Regions from separate parts of the Homo sapiens genome. Here region 1 is linked to region 2. The links are contacts of gene promoters, found by promoter capture Hi-C in human tissues and cell types (Jung and others, 2019). All regions are on one chromosome and are shown on one strand. The core of a region is centred on a gene start or on the middle of the fragment in contact, and the rest is flanking DNA. Distances in the headings are between cores, read along the strand shown. Region 1 holds the start of FASLG (Fas ligand). Region 2 has its middle 160 kb from the start of TNFSF18.

Region 1 (6,428 bases), core at 2,155-4,654, 230 kb before region 2:
GGTACTAGTCTGAAATGGAGAGGCTCATCAGTTCAGGGTAGGATCTCAGAGAGATACTGGATGTCAAACGTGGACTTTGCACTTTCCCCTGCAACCTCTCTCCCTCTCTCCACTTTGTTTGTCCTTAATGGAAGAAGGTCGATTATATTAAGTCTACAGATGAATTATTTGGGGAAAGATTCACTAAATTTACAACATCTTTTGAGTGCCTACCTTGGTGCTAGGGACTATTCTAAGTGTATCAAATGCTTTGACTCATTTAATCCTCCCAACCCCCGTAAAGCAAGTACTATTATGATCATGCTTATTTTTATAAATGAGAAAACTGTGGCACCGAGGAGGGAAGGTGACCTGTCCAGTTCACACAGTTAATGAGCAGAAGAGCTGGGATTGGAAGTCACATAGTTTAACTCCAGAACCACCCACTCCCAACCATCATGCAACACCACCTCCCCATCCAGGATATGGTGTATTTTTCCCACTTATTTGAATCTTTGACATTTTCAGTAGAATTTTTATAATTTAAAAGATATGGGCCATGCACGGTGGCTCACGCCTGTAATCCCAGCACTTTGGGAGGCTGAGGCGGGCAGATCACGAGGTCAAGAGATCGAGACCATCCTGGCCAACATGGTGAAACCCCATCTCTACTAAAAATACAAAAATTAGCTGTGTGTGGTGGCATGTGCCTGTAGTCCCAGCTACTCGGGAGGCTAAGGCAGGAGAATCACTTGAACCCAGGAGGCAGATGTTGCAGTGAGCTGAGATCACGCCATTGCGTGCCAGCCTGGCGACAGAGTAAGACTCAATCTCAAAAAAATAAAAAATACATATATATGGTTCTGGACAATTTTTCTTACAGTTATTTTGGGATTTTCAAATAGTTTTTTTGTTGTCTATATGGTAGAATTCTTAAAATTACAATTTCTGATTATGAAATTTAAAGTTAGTTGAATTCATAACGATGAATAAAGTCACATGTGAGTTCAAAAGCTCGTTAACTCGTGCACTGTCTTGCTAGTCTCATCCCTTGCACTGTTTAAGAGTGGAGAGTGGGATGTGAGCAGGAGTGCCTGGTAAGGAGGCAGTAGGAGCTGACGCTAAAGAGCCTTGGGTAACGGTAAGAAGCTTGCCTTGCTCCTGAATCAAACCTTCCAACAGAAGGCAGGGAAGTGAGATCATTAGGTTTGTTTTTTAAAAAGCATTTTTCTTATAGCATTTTACTGGGTGATTTGGGCTTGGGAAAGGTCGGTGGCAGGGCACCTGTTAGGGCATTATTGCAGTATTTCAAGTGAGAGATAAAGTCTGACCCCAGGCAACAGCAGTAAGAAAAATGGGAGTAGCGAGGATGGGGCAGGGGGGCAGTACACTGAGGGGAGGGTAAGGAACAGGTCTCAGGTAAAAGCGACAGTCCTGGGTGACCAGTTAAACGTTGGGGGAGAGGAAAAGAAAGGAGATGAAGTTGCCACCAGAAAGAGTGGCCTCAGGAGAAAGGGGTTGTACAGGGTTGGGGATGGGGTGGGATGGGCAGAATGTATCAGAGAAATAGTACCCTTGGGGTTGGTGTGGTACAGGTGAGTGGGCCTGAATGATAGTAATGGAAATCCCAAAGCATGATATAAAAACTAACGAAATTTGAAAAGTAATAAACATGAAAAAAATGAAAAATTTTGATTTATGGGGGATTTATTTGGCTTCTATTGGAGAATGATTAGGACTGAAGCTAACTACTTGGAAGTTATTGGCATATAAATGGTATGTGAGGCCAGAGGAAATGGTGAGATGAGCCCAAGTAGAGAGGCCAGCTTTAAACAACAACAACAACTACCAAAAAAAAAAAAAAAAAAAAAAAAGCAAAACAAAGAAATAGGACACAGAGTTAGATTTGAATGTCAGATATATGATGAATAATTGTTTAGTATATTCCATGTTTGGACATGTTTAAGACCTACTTGTCCTAAAAATAATGTATTATTTATCTGAAATTCAAATTTAACTGGGCACCATGTATTTCATCTGGCAACCATAACAGGGGCAGCACACAGAAATGTTGGCAGGGACCAGGCAGGCCTTTCAGATAGTGAGGTGGTGTGTGAGACACAGGCCAGTGGTGGAGGCTGGGTGACCCAGAACTCCTGTCTCTCATTCTCAGGGGCAGCTGCTACATACTTCCCACTGATTGGGTTTGCAGAGATGGCCTCGAGGGTGTCTGATATTCTGATATTTCAAAACAGAATAGAAATATGTATTTTAATGTGTATTTAATATATATATTTTAAAATATTTTTAATGTTGATATTAAAAGTGGTCAGTTGGGCTCAGTGCAGTGGCTCATGCCTGTAATTCCAGCACTTTGGGAAACTGAGGCAGGAGGATGTCTTGAAGCTAGGAGTTTGAGACAAGCCTGGGCAACATAGCAAGTCCCCATCTGTACAAAAAAAAAAAAGAATAAATTAGTCAGGTGTAGTGACTTATGCCTATAATCCCAGCTACTCAGGAGGCCAAGGCAAGAGGATTGCTTGAGCCCAGGAGTTTGAGGCTGCAGTTAACTACGATAGCACCACTGCACTCCAGCCTGGGTGACAGAGTGAGACTCTGTCTCTATTTAAATAAATAAGTAAATAAATAAACTGGGCAAACAATGAAAATGAAAACATTGCGAAATACAAAGCAGCTCTGTGGGTTCCACTGGTTTGCAGCCTCTGATCTAATTTCTAAAGTGGGTGTAGCAGGTTTTTAACCTGTAAATTATGGTGATCGGCAGGTCAGGGTAAATGGTAGTTGTGTGTGGGGAAGAGATGATGGCAACAGATGTTTTCCTCCTGCAAAAACTAAAATGTGGGAGTGACTTCTCTGGCCATGACTCCATGGTCTCTCCCCTCAGAGCCATTTTCAGTAAAATTTTTATAGTTTAAAAAATACGGTTCTGAACAATTTTTGTTAGAGTTATTTTGGGATTTTTAAATAGTTTTTTGGTTGTGTATATGGTAGAATTCTTAAAATTATACAATTATAATGTATAAAAAAGCATGCAATTATAATTCATAAAATTATAGCCCCACTGACCATTCTCCTGTAGCTGGGAGCAGTTCACACTAACAGGGCTATACCCCCATGCTGACCTGCTCTGCAGGATCCCAGGAAGGTGAGCATAGCCTACTAACCTGTTTGGGTAGCACAGCGACAGCAACTGAGGCCTTGAAGGCTGTTATCAGAAAATTGTGGGCGGAAACTTCCAGGGGTTTGCTCTGAGCTTCTTGAGGCTTCTCAGCTTCAGCTGCAAAGTGAGTGGGTGTTTCTTTGAGAAGCAGAATCAGAGAGAGAGAGATAGAGAAAGAGAAAGACAGAGGTGTTTCCCTTAGCTATGGAAACTCTATAAGAGAGATCCAGCTTGCCTCCTCTTGAGCAGTCAGCAACAGGGTCCCGTCCTTGACACCTCAGCCTCTACAGGACTGAGAAGAAGTAAAACCGTTTGCTGGGGCTGGCCTGACTCACCAGCTGCCATGCAGCAGCCCTTCAATTACCCATATCCCCAGATCTACTGGGTGGACAGCAGTGCCAGCTCTCCCTGGGCCCCTCCAGGCACAGTTCTTCCCTGTCCAACCTCTGTGCCCAGAAGGCCTGGTCAAAGGAGGCCACCACCACCACCGCCACCGCCACCACTACCACCTCCGCCGCCGCCGCCACCACTGCCTCCACTACCGCTGCCACCCCTGAAGAAGAGAGGGAACCACAGCACAGGCCTGTGTCTCCTTGTGATGTTTTTCATGGTTCTGGTTGCCTTGGTAGGATTGGGCCTGGGGATGTTTCAGCTCTTCCACCTACAGAAGGAGCTGGCAGAACTCCGAGAGGTAAGCCTGCCGGCAGACTGCTGTGCCCTGGAGGCACCAGGCATAAGGGGATGGAGGGCCCACTGCCTGGCTTGCAAAGTGCTTTTCAATCCTTTTTTTTTTTTTCTTAGAAATGGGTTGTTCTAGTTATTCTATTCTATAGACAGAGAAATGGAGGCTCATAGGGGTGAAGGGAATATTTTTTACTTTGTAAAGAATCAGAGCCCAACAGTTTGTCTTTCCTCAGTTGTCAACTCAGTCTGTTGAACCACTTACTGCCTCATACCTATTGATTTAAGGAGTAAAAAACAAACAAACAAAACTTTTAAGTTTTGCTTGGAAGTAAATTTGTTCAGATGACCAAACTAAATCTTGAAAATTGGTACGATTCCAAATCACAAAACTGAGGGACAGTGAGGCAAAATTGCTTGGCCAAAGCCCAAGTTAGCAGAACTTCTGAGGTATTTGGATTCTCTTTCCAGGGCTTGGTTTATTTGACGATTCTGCCTCTTTTGCTTAAAGAATTTTATTTTTATTATACATCTTTTCTCTTTCTGTTTTACTAGTCTACCAGCCAGATGCACACAGCATCATCTTTGGAGAAGCAAATAGGTGAGTCTTTTTTCGCATGTACATTGAGTTCCCAAAGATGATCCTCAGCACAGAACTATGTTAATGGAATGCCTTAAATTCTGTCCCACACTTTGGTTTCTGTACACTATAAGAGGAATTCTGGCTAATTCAGAATCTCTGGTCTATGATTCCTTGAGCTGCTTTAAAAATGTGAAGTGAATTGAATTGCTCACAATCAATATAGCTGAGCACTGCACACAATTCAAAATCACTTCCACTTGACTTTGGAAAGAGACACACATATACAACCCTGGACCTTTGCCCCCTGAGAAGTGGCTCCAGGCCTGTCCCCTTCCACAGACATCCTGGTCCTGGCACACACGCCAGTGGCTGTAACTCCTGGGAAGAGAAGGCGAAATGAAGGCAGAGACAGATGTTTCTGAGAAACGTCCTTTCCTCTTTTAAATGCCCTAAAGAGATTACATTGAAGCTTTATTTACAATATGTTTTATAGGATGTAAGCTTTTAAAACATGGATAATCAATTCCCCACATTAGAATGGTTTTTCTTGAAGTCACTGAGAAGCTTAAGGGAAGACTTCAGCCATCATTCAAAGGATGTTCAGCTTCACCCACAGAGGCAGTCATGAGGTACCCTTGATCACAAAGGAAAATCCTTTGTATGGGAGCTAGGGCAAGAAGATGATAGGTTGAACACTGATCTCATGAAATTTCAGGGCATAGTTGTGCAAGCTCTGTACAGATAGATTTTACAGTGTGCTTCACTAGTCTAAGATTCATTGAAATTTTAGATTTAGATTTACAATGAGATTCATTGAATTTTTAGAGGTGGAAGGAAGCTTAGAATATATCTAGTCCAGCCATTTCATTTTTTGGAAGAGAAACAAAATACCAGATGGATTAGGTGAATATGCCCAAGACCACTGGTATGCCATTGGGGCTAGAAGGAACACAGGCTCTTGATGCCTTGTCACCTACAGGGCTTTCCAGTACTGGACTGGTGCCTCATGAAGGAGGGAAACTCCTGTCTCTCTGTAGTGAGCATGGAATAAGAAATAGATGAAAAGCAGGATACCTCTGCAAAGACTATAGGTAGATCTCATCCTTAGAAACTCAGAATAAAGAAGAAGGCAGCACTGGCCATCTATTAAGTGAAGCAAGTTCCAGTTTCTCCGGATGTGGCTACTGCACATGACCCAGTCGCCTGTCTACTATCCTAGACTGTTAAGTTCTTATATGAGCCACTGTTGGGATGCTCTGGCCCCTGCTTCTGTGTCCTAATCCTTAAATGTTAGAAAGTCCATATGTACACAAGCAGAGTGGAAATATTTGATAGAAAAGTAAAGCCTCTGGAGGACGTCTGAAATAAGATCATTTTGAAAATCTGTGGAATGTGCCTGGTCTGATAGGTATCTAATTATTCATCTTTCACCCACTCTCTGGAGTCAATTTAGTGATTAAAAGTCAAATGATCAGGTGAGTCAGATCCATCTACCCCAGTAAGCAATTATGTTCTCTAGATCAACCCAAATAAACCAGAAATTGGTAAATCATCACATGGAAATCAAATCAGTAACTTTACTAATAAGAAAAGAGATGCAAATTAAAAATAGGGAATACCAATTTTCATCAAATTAATAAAGATTAAAAAAAAACCCAGACTGACAAAGATTTGAGAGAAAAGTGCCTGTGCAAACATTAGTTTCAGCCAGTATACATGTAAATTGCTATAACTTTTTTTGAAGAGCGCTTTAGAAATACATAGCAAAAGCTTGTAACTAGTAGTTTACGTTGTAATCCTATCGCTAAGAATTTATCTTAAGAAAATAATCAGAGATGTGCCCGAAGATTTATATATAAGGATGTTCATTACTTCCTTATGAGCCTATTTATAATAAATAATTCAGAAGAAACTTGAATGCCTCATACGAGATTAGTTATATACATTATGGTGTATTCAGACAAGCACATAATAAGCAGCAACTAAAAGTGATGTATCAGAAGG
Region 2 (6,805 bases), core at 3,416-5,915:
TGGACTGTACTGTACTTCATTTTTTGAAATGAACATGATAATCTTGAGCTTATCAAAATGTTAGTGAGAAAAACTAATTGTGAAGTCAATTAAAATAGGGTCATTGAAAGATGATAGAGTCCATTCAGAGTGACTTAGGTTCAAAACCTGGGATTTGTCACCGACTGTGAGCATTTTGTCAAGTTACTTTACCTTTTCAGGCCTCAGTTTCCCTATATATAAGAAGAGAATAATGGCATCTATCTCAATCAAATATTGCTATTAAATGAAATAATTTATACAAATGCTTAGTATGTTGCTTTCCAGGGTAGGGTAAATGTTGTAAAGTATTACTATGTGTATTATTATAATATGTTATTAAGACTAATATTAAGAATAATAAATCATTTAGGCAGAAAATCATACAAGTACCCCAGCTCTATCAATTAAGATGCTTTGGCTGCAAGTAGCAGAAAATCAACTCAAAGTTTCTTTCTTATAAGAAGTCCAAAGGTGAAGGAGTTTCAGGGTTGGTTACACTAATGACTCAGAATTGTTATCAAGCACCCATGTTTACTCAGTCTTTCAGTTATGTTATCCTCAGAGTTTTCCTTGTTGTATAGGATAAATTCTTTTCAAGCCCAAGATGGCAGCTACAGTTCCAGGTATCACAATAGGTTGCAATGTCCATGGGCTGAGAAGGAAATGTCTTCGTCTTTGGTTCTTCCTTAAGAACAAAGATAACTCTTCCAAAAAGTCCCTAGGAGCCTTTTTGTCCATTTTCATAAGGCAAAATTGTGTCATATGCCCCTTCTTAATCCATAATTGACAAGGGAATTTGGATGAACCATGTTGGCTTAATGAAATTAATAAAGATTCACCTTTCTCCTTCAGGGATAGATAGATGCTCAGCCTCCATAAAGCAGCTAGTGTTCTAATATCTGAACACAATTGGGTTTCTAAGAGCACAAAAGGGAAGAAGAGATTTGGGTAGACAAGGTACAGAATTTACTACATCTGGGCTAGAGATTAGAGGACTCAGAGATGAGTAAAATGCCTTATCTTCAAGGAAATTCTAGTTTATTAATAATATTATTACTACAATTATCCATTCCATTAGTCCATTTGTGTTGCTATGAAGGAATACCTGAGGCTGAGTAATTTATAAAGAAAAGAGGTTTATATGGCTCACAGTTCTGCAGGCTGTACAACAGCATGGCATCAGCATCTGCTTCTGGTGAGGCCTCAGGAAAGTTATAATCATGGCAGAAGATGAAGCGGGGAGCTGGAGTATCACATGGCAATAGTGAGCGAGAGAGAGAGAGGTGCCAAAGTCTTCCCTTCCCAAAAGTTCCCCCAAAGTCTTAACTCATCCCATCATTAACTCAGTAGTCCAAAGTCTCATTTGAGACTCAAAGTAAGTTCCTCCAGCTATGAGCCTCTAAAATTAAAAAAAAACAAGTTATATATTTCCAAGACAAAACAATTGTATGTGCATTGGTAAAATAATCCCATTTCAAAAGGGAGAAATTGGACAAAAGAGAAGGACAACAGGCCCCACACAAGTCCAAAACCCAGCAGGGCAGACATTAAATCTTAAAGCTCTAATATCATCTTTGCCTCCATGTCCCACATCCTGGGCACACTGGTGCAGGGAGTAGGACATGGCCTTGGGCAGCTCTGCTCTTTGAGTTTGCCAGGTGCAGCCTCTATGGCTGCTTTCATGGGTTGGAGTCCAATGCCTGTGGCTTTTCCATACTCAGGATGCAAGCTACAGGTGGATCTACCATTCTGGGGTCTGGAAGGCAGTGGCCCCCTTCCCACAGCTCCACTAGGCAGTGCCTCAATTGGCACTCTGTGTGGGGCTGCAACCCCACATTTCCCCTAAGTACTGCCCTAATAGAGGCACTCTGGGGGCACCCTGCCCCTGAGGTAGGCTTCTGCTTGGACACAAAGCTTTCCAATATATCCTCTGAAATCTAGGTGGAAACTGGCAACCTTTCTTCACTCTTGTATTCTGGCACTTGCAGGCTTAACATTTCCTGGAAACCACCAAGGCTTATGGCTGAGCCTTCCATAGGGTTAGCCCGAGCTCTACCTGGGGCCGTTTGAGCCTTGGCTGTAGCATAAGCAGCCAGGAGGTGGGGAATGGCCTTCCAAGGTGGCACAGGGCAGCAGTGCCCTGAATCTGGCCACTGAAACCATTCTGTCTTCTGGGCTTGCAATGAGAGGGGCTACATTGAAGATCTTTTTCCCATTGTCTTGGCTATTAGCACTTGACTCCCTTTTAATCATGCAAATCTCTCTAACAAGTGGTTGCTTTGCAGGCCTCTTGAATTATTTCCTTGAAAACACTATTTCCTTCTTTACTACATGGTCAGACCACACATTTTCCAATTTTTTATGCTCTGCTTCCCTTTGAAATATAAGTTCCAACTTTAAGTCTTTCTTTTGCTCTTGTATCTGACTGTAGGCTGTTAGAAGTAACCACACCACTTCTAGAATGCTTTGCTGCTTAGAAATTTATTCCGCAAAATATCCTAGGTCATCACTCTTAAGTTCAGCCATCCCCCAAAACTGAAGGGCATGGACAAAATGCAGTCAAGTTCTTTGCTGGGGTGTAACATGGGTGACCTTTGCTCCATGGCTGATAACCTCCTTATTTCTATCTGAGATCTCATCAGTCTGGCCTTCATTGTCCATATTTGTATCAGCATTTTCTTACAACCACCTAACAATTCTCTAGGAAGTTTCAAACTTTCCCTCATCTTCCTTTCTTCTTCTGAGTTCTTCAAATTCTTCCAATCTCTGCCTGTTACCCAGTTCTAAAGCTGCTTCTACATTTTCAAGTCTCTTCATAGCAATGCCCCACTCATAAGTACCAATTTTTTGTGTTAGCCCATTTGCATTTCTATAAAGGAATACCTGAGACTGGGTAATTTATAAATAATGTAGGTTGATTTTGGCTGATGGTTCTGCAGGCTGTACAGGAAGCATGGCACCAGTGTCTGCTCCTAGTGATGGCCTCAGAAAGCTTACAATCATGGCAGAAGGCACAAGGGGAGCCAGTATGTCACATGGCAAGAGAGGGAGAAAGAGAGAGAGAGAGAGATAGGTGCCAGGCTCTTTCAAACAACCAGCTCCCACATGAACTCATTACTGCAGGAAGGTCATCAAGCCATTCATGAAGCCCCCCATGATCCAAACACCTCCCACCAGGCTGTATCTCCAAGATTAGGAATTACATTTAAACATGCGATTTGGAGATAACAAACATCCAAACTATATCATCCATGATAGCTAGTGCATTGCCCTATCAATGTCTTAAAAGCCATGGGTTTAAAAGAAAATGAGACATTAGCCAAGCTTGTTGACTTTCATAAAAACTCATCTCATTTCCCTAATTTGACCAAGACATTCTGTTTAGCCAGAACTTCTGATCTAACCAACCAAACTAGCTAAAAACAACAAAGAGAAATTTGTAAACTGTCCCCTAATGCTGGGAAGTTGTTACCAATACCTAGAAAAGTTATGTTTATCTTATCTGTAAAAAATAAAATTCATGTTGATTTGAAGCATCATTTATTGATATTCTTAACTGTTTTGAAGATGCACTCAAGTTCTATCTAGTGACTCAGACCTTCCAAGTTTCTGTCCACTCTGTGACACACTCTATCGGGGGGCATCTGAAAGTTTTGCAGAAAATAATAACGTAGATTTGGTTTTGTTTTGAAGAAACACCTCAGAAAATCTATTCTTGACTAGAGTTGAGGGTAAAACATACAATTTAAAGTGGTTTTAATCTTAGGATTTCATACTTGGTAGTAGGGTAGAGGGAGAAGTACCAAAGTCTGTATTTATTAAGTATATATTATTTGTTCATATGTCCTATGCTTATTCATTTAACAAATACACATCTAATAATCTAACATGCTGTATGTTTTAGTAGACAATTATAAACCCCACAAAGGAAAAGCTCTTCAAGGACCTTAATACAAACATATCATTATAATACAAAAAAACAAAATGATAAAACAATTCCTACTCTAGGACTTCTGCAGAAGGAAAACAAAAAGACAAAAAAATCAAGGTACACAACAAAAGAAGATAATGACAGGTACACACATAACATTACATTAGCACACACACATAGACACATATTCATCAAATATATATTGGGTCCTTGCTACACATAAGAAATTATGCTGAAAAGATACAAAAGTAGGCCGGGCGCGGTGGCTCACGCCTGTAATCCCAGCACTTTCAGAGGCCGAGGTGGGCGGATCATGAGGTCAGGAGATCGAGACCATCCTGGCTAACATGGAGAAGCCCCATCTCTACTAAAAAAATACAAAAACGTTAGCCGGGCGTGGTGGCAGGCACCTGTAGTCCCAGCTACTCAGAAGGCTGAGGCAGGAGAATGGCGTGAACCTGGGAAGTGGAGCTTGCAGTGAGCCAAGATCACGCCACTGCACTCCAGCCTGGGCGACAGAGCCAGATGCCATCTCAAAAAAAAAAAAAAAAAAAGAAAAGAAAAAAGATATAAAAGTAAAGAGACACATTCCTATGCTCAGAAAATTTATAAGATGCTAAGAGAGATAATAGGCACTCTCAAAGTATTACAAACTAAAAAGAAAGAGAACTAACAATTTCTAATAATGATAACAAACACATACATAGTGGTTATTGTCTCAGAAACTGCTCTAAGCACTTTACAAATATTAATTCATGTAAACTTTCCAAGCTTCCACTAAAGTAAGTAATATTATTATACCATGTTACAGAGGAGGAAACTGAGACACAGAAAACTTTGCCCAAGGTTGTGTAGCTAGAAAGTGGTAGAGCTGGGATTCTAACCCAGGAAATGTGACTCCAGAGTCTATGCTATACATGGTGATGCATGGTTATGTGTAAGGTAACTTCACAGGTTTTATATAGGAGAGAATAAAACATAGAATTTGGCATTATAAAAAAATAAAAAATATTATGAGACTTCAGATAAATGAGATATTATTTCTTGCTTGAGTGGTAAAATAATGCCTTTCTGGACAAGATAGTATTTGGAAATTATGGAGGATTTAGGCATGAAGTAATCAGGCAGGGACAGCCTTTGGGAGAGAGTAGGAGAGTTGGAAAAGCATTGAGTATATTAAGGAAATGAAGATTTTTTCCAGTTTAGTTGGAATATAGTTGTGTGTAGGAGATTAACTCAAGATAAGGCTGGAAAGTAGAATCCTAAACTGTTAGAACTGGCAGATGCCCTAAACATCATGTAGTGTTGCTCCTTGTTTTACTGACAAAGAAAATGAGGCCCAGAGATGGAATGACTGGGCATGATTCCAGTGGGGCTTTGGGTGGCATCTTCAGGACTGAAACTCTGCTCTTCCAACTCCCAGGCTAAGGGTTTTCATATTACACTGGATCAGATCATGGAGAGCCATATATATCTAAACAATGATAAAGTACTAAAGGATTTTGAGATAGGAAGGAGAAACTGGATTTGAATTCTAACTTCTTAACCTGCTAGTTGTTTAATTTGGGGTGGCGGGGGGGATGGGGATTTTACCTAACTTCTTTAAACTCAGTATCTTCATCTGTAAAATAGGTATGATAAAATGCCTAACTTGTAAGATTGCCACGACAAGTCAGTAAGATGCTTTGCACATAGTAGATGCTAAATAAATAGTAAAATCAATTTTTTTTCTTCTCCTTCTCTTTTCCTGTCTTTATTTTTTTTGGGGGGCGGGGTAAGCTTTCCATTCTTTCCATTCCTCCTCTTTCTCTTTTTCTTCCTCTATCAAATGGAAAGGTGAGGAAAGGCAGACATTGGCCCATTCCACCCCCACCTGCAGTGTGCTCCTCCTGTCCAGGATCTGCATTTCTTGGCCTGAAGGTTTCTAAGCCTTTGGGAGGATGCTTTACCTAGGTTTGTGTCAGGACAGAAGTCCCAGAATGTCTATTCACCCCCTAGAAGAGCCCTCAAACAATGACGGAAGAAATTTGGTGTATACATTCCTCCCTGGACACACAGTAAGATTCCTCTGTGGCAGCTCCCAGGCTGGTTCCTGGGGCTTTCCACAGGATTACTCTTTGGTCTGCTCCATTGTAGTAACCCTTGGTTGCTCCCCTTTCCTGTCTCACTTCTCCACTCCCCTGATGACTTTCCAAATAAACTATCAGTATGTGAATCTTTGTCTCAGTGTCTTCTTTTAGGGGATCCCATGCTAAGAAGGAATGGGTTCATAAATGATGGAACCAGGCTCTAGAAAATCAGGGAGGAATGAAAATAGAAGCATATATTGAGGGACTACTCCAGGGGAAGAGGAAGGATGTTTCACAGAGTTGGAAAGAGCAGTCTATTGATGGCCAAGCTAGCTGCCTTGCCTATGTCATCCTGCCCTCTCTGAGTTTTTCTTTTTTCATTCCAGGCCTAACCAACATAATCTCAGAATTCTCATTATCAGGTCTACTGGAAAATCCTGTATGGCAAGGCTGTTGGGCTGTCCTTTCCTTTCCAAGGCTGATGATATCTCTGGCTTTCTTGATAGCTGACTGAGGAGGAGGAAGCCACCAGTGCTAACATGCACTGTGATTCTGGGAAGAAGGGTATTCCCAAAGCACAGAGACACCAATAACTGTCATTTTCAGAATTACTGTGATGGTGCTGGTGGTGAAGGTAACCCAGAATAGTTGCCTGCATATTTAAAGGACAATGAGGTTTCTGGAACCATGGAGATGGGCCTGGGCAGGAATAGTCTTTTTCCTGAAACGACATGAGCTTTGCCAACAAAAACACAGAACTCTGGTAGCTTAGCCTTATTCTTGC

The links. The method cuts DNA at HindIII sites, captures the fragments that hold promoters and counts their contacts. A contact is called where the count stands out against the background at its distance.
Region 1: a contact is called between the fragment with the promoter of FASLG here and a fragment that was not itself captured in region 2, in 1 of the 25 tissues and cell types used here (pancreas).

Annotation. Positions count from the first base shown.
Region 1 is chr1:172,655,699-172,662,126 of GRCh38, forward strand. It overlaps FASLG (Fas ligand), which reads left to right and starts at 3,405. Exons shown (of 4, transcript NM_000639.3): 1 at 3,405-3,851; 2 at 4,397-4,442. The coding sequence starts at 3,504. The HindIII fragment of the contact is 6,455 bases long and covers 1-5,728 here.
Region 2 is chr1:172,886,817-172,893,621 of GRCh38, forward strand. No RefSeq gene overlaps it. Among named protein-coding and RNA genes, the nearest start is that of TNFSF18, 160 kb to the right of the region's middle. The HindIII fragment of the contact is 4,383 bases long and covers 2,475-6,805 here.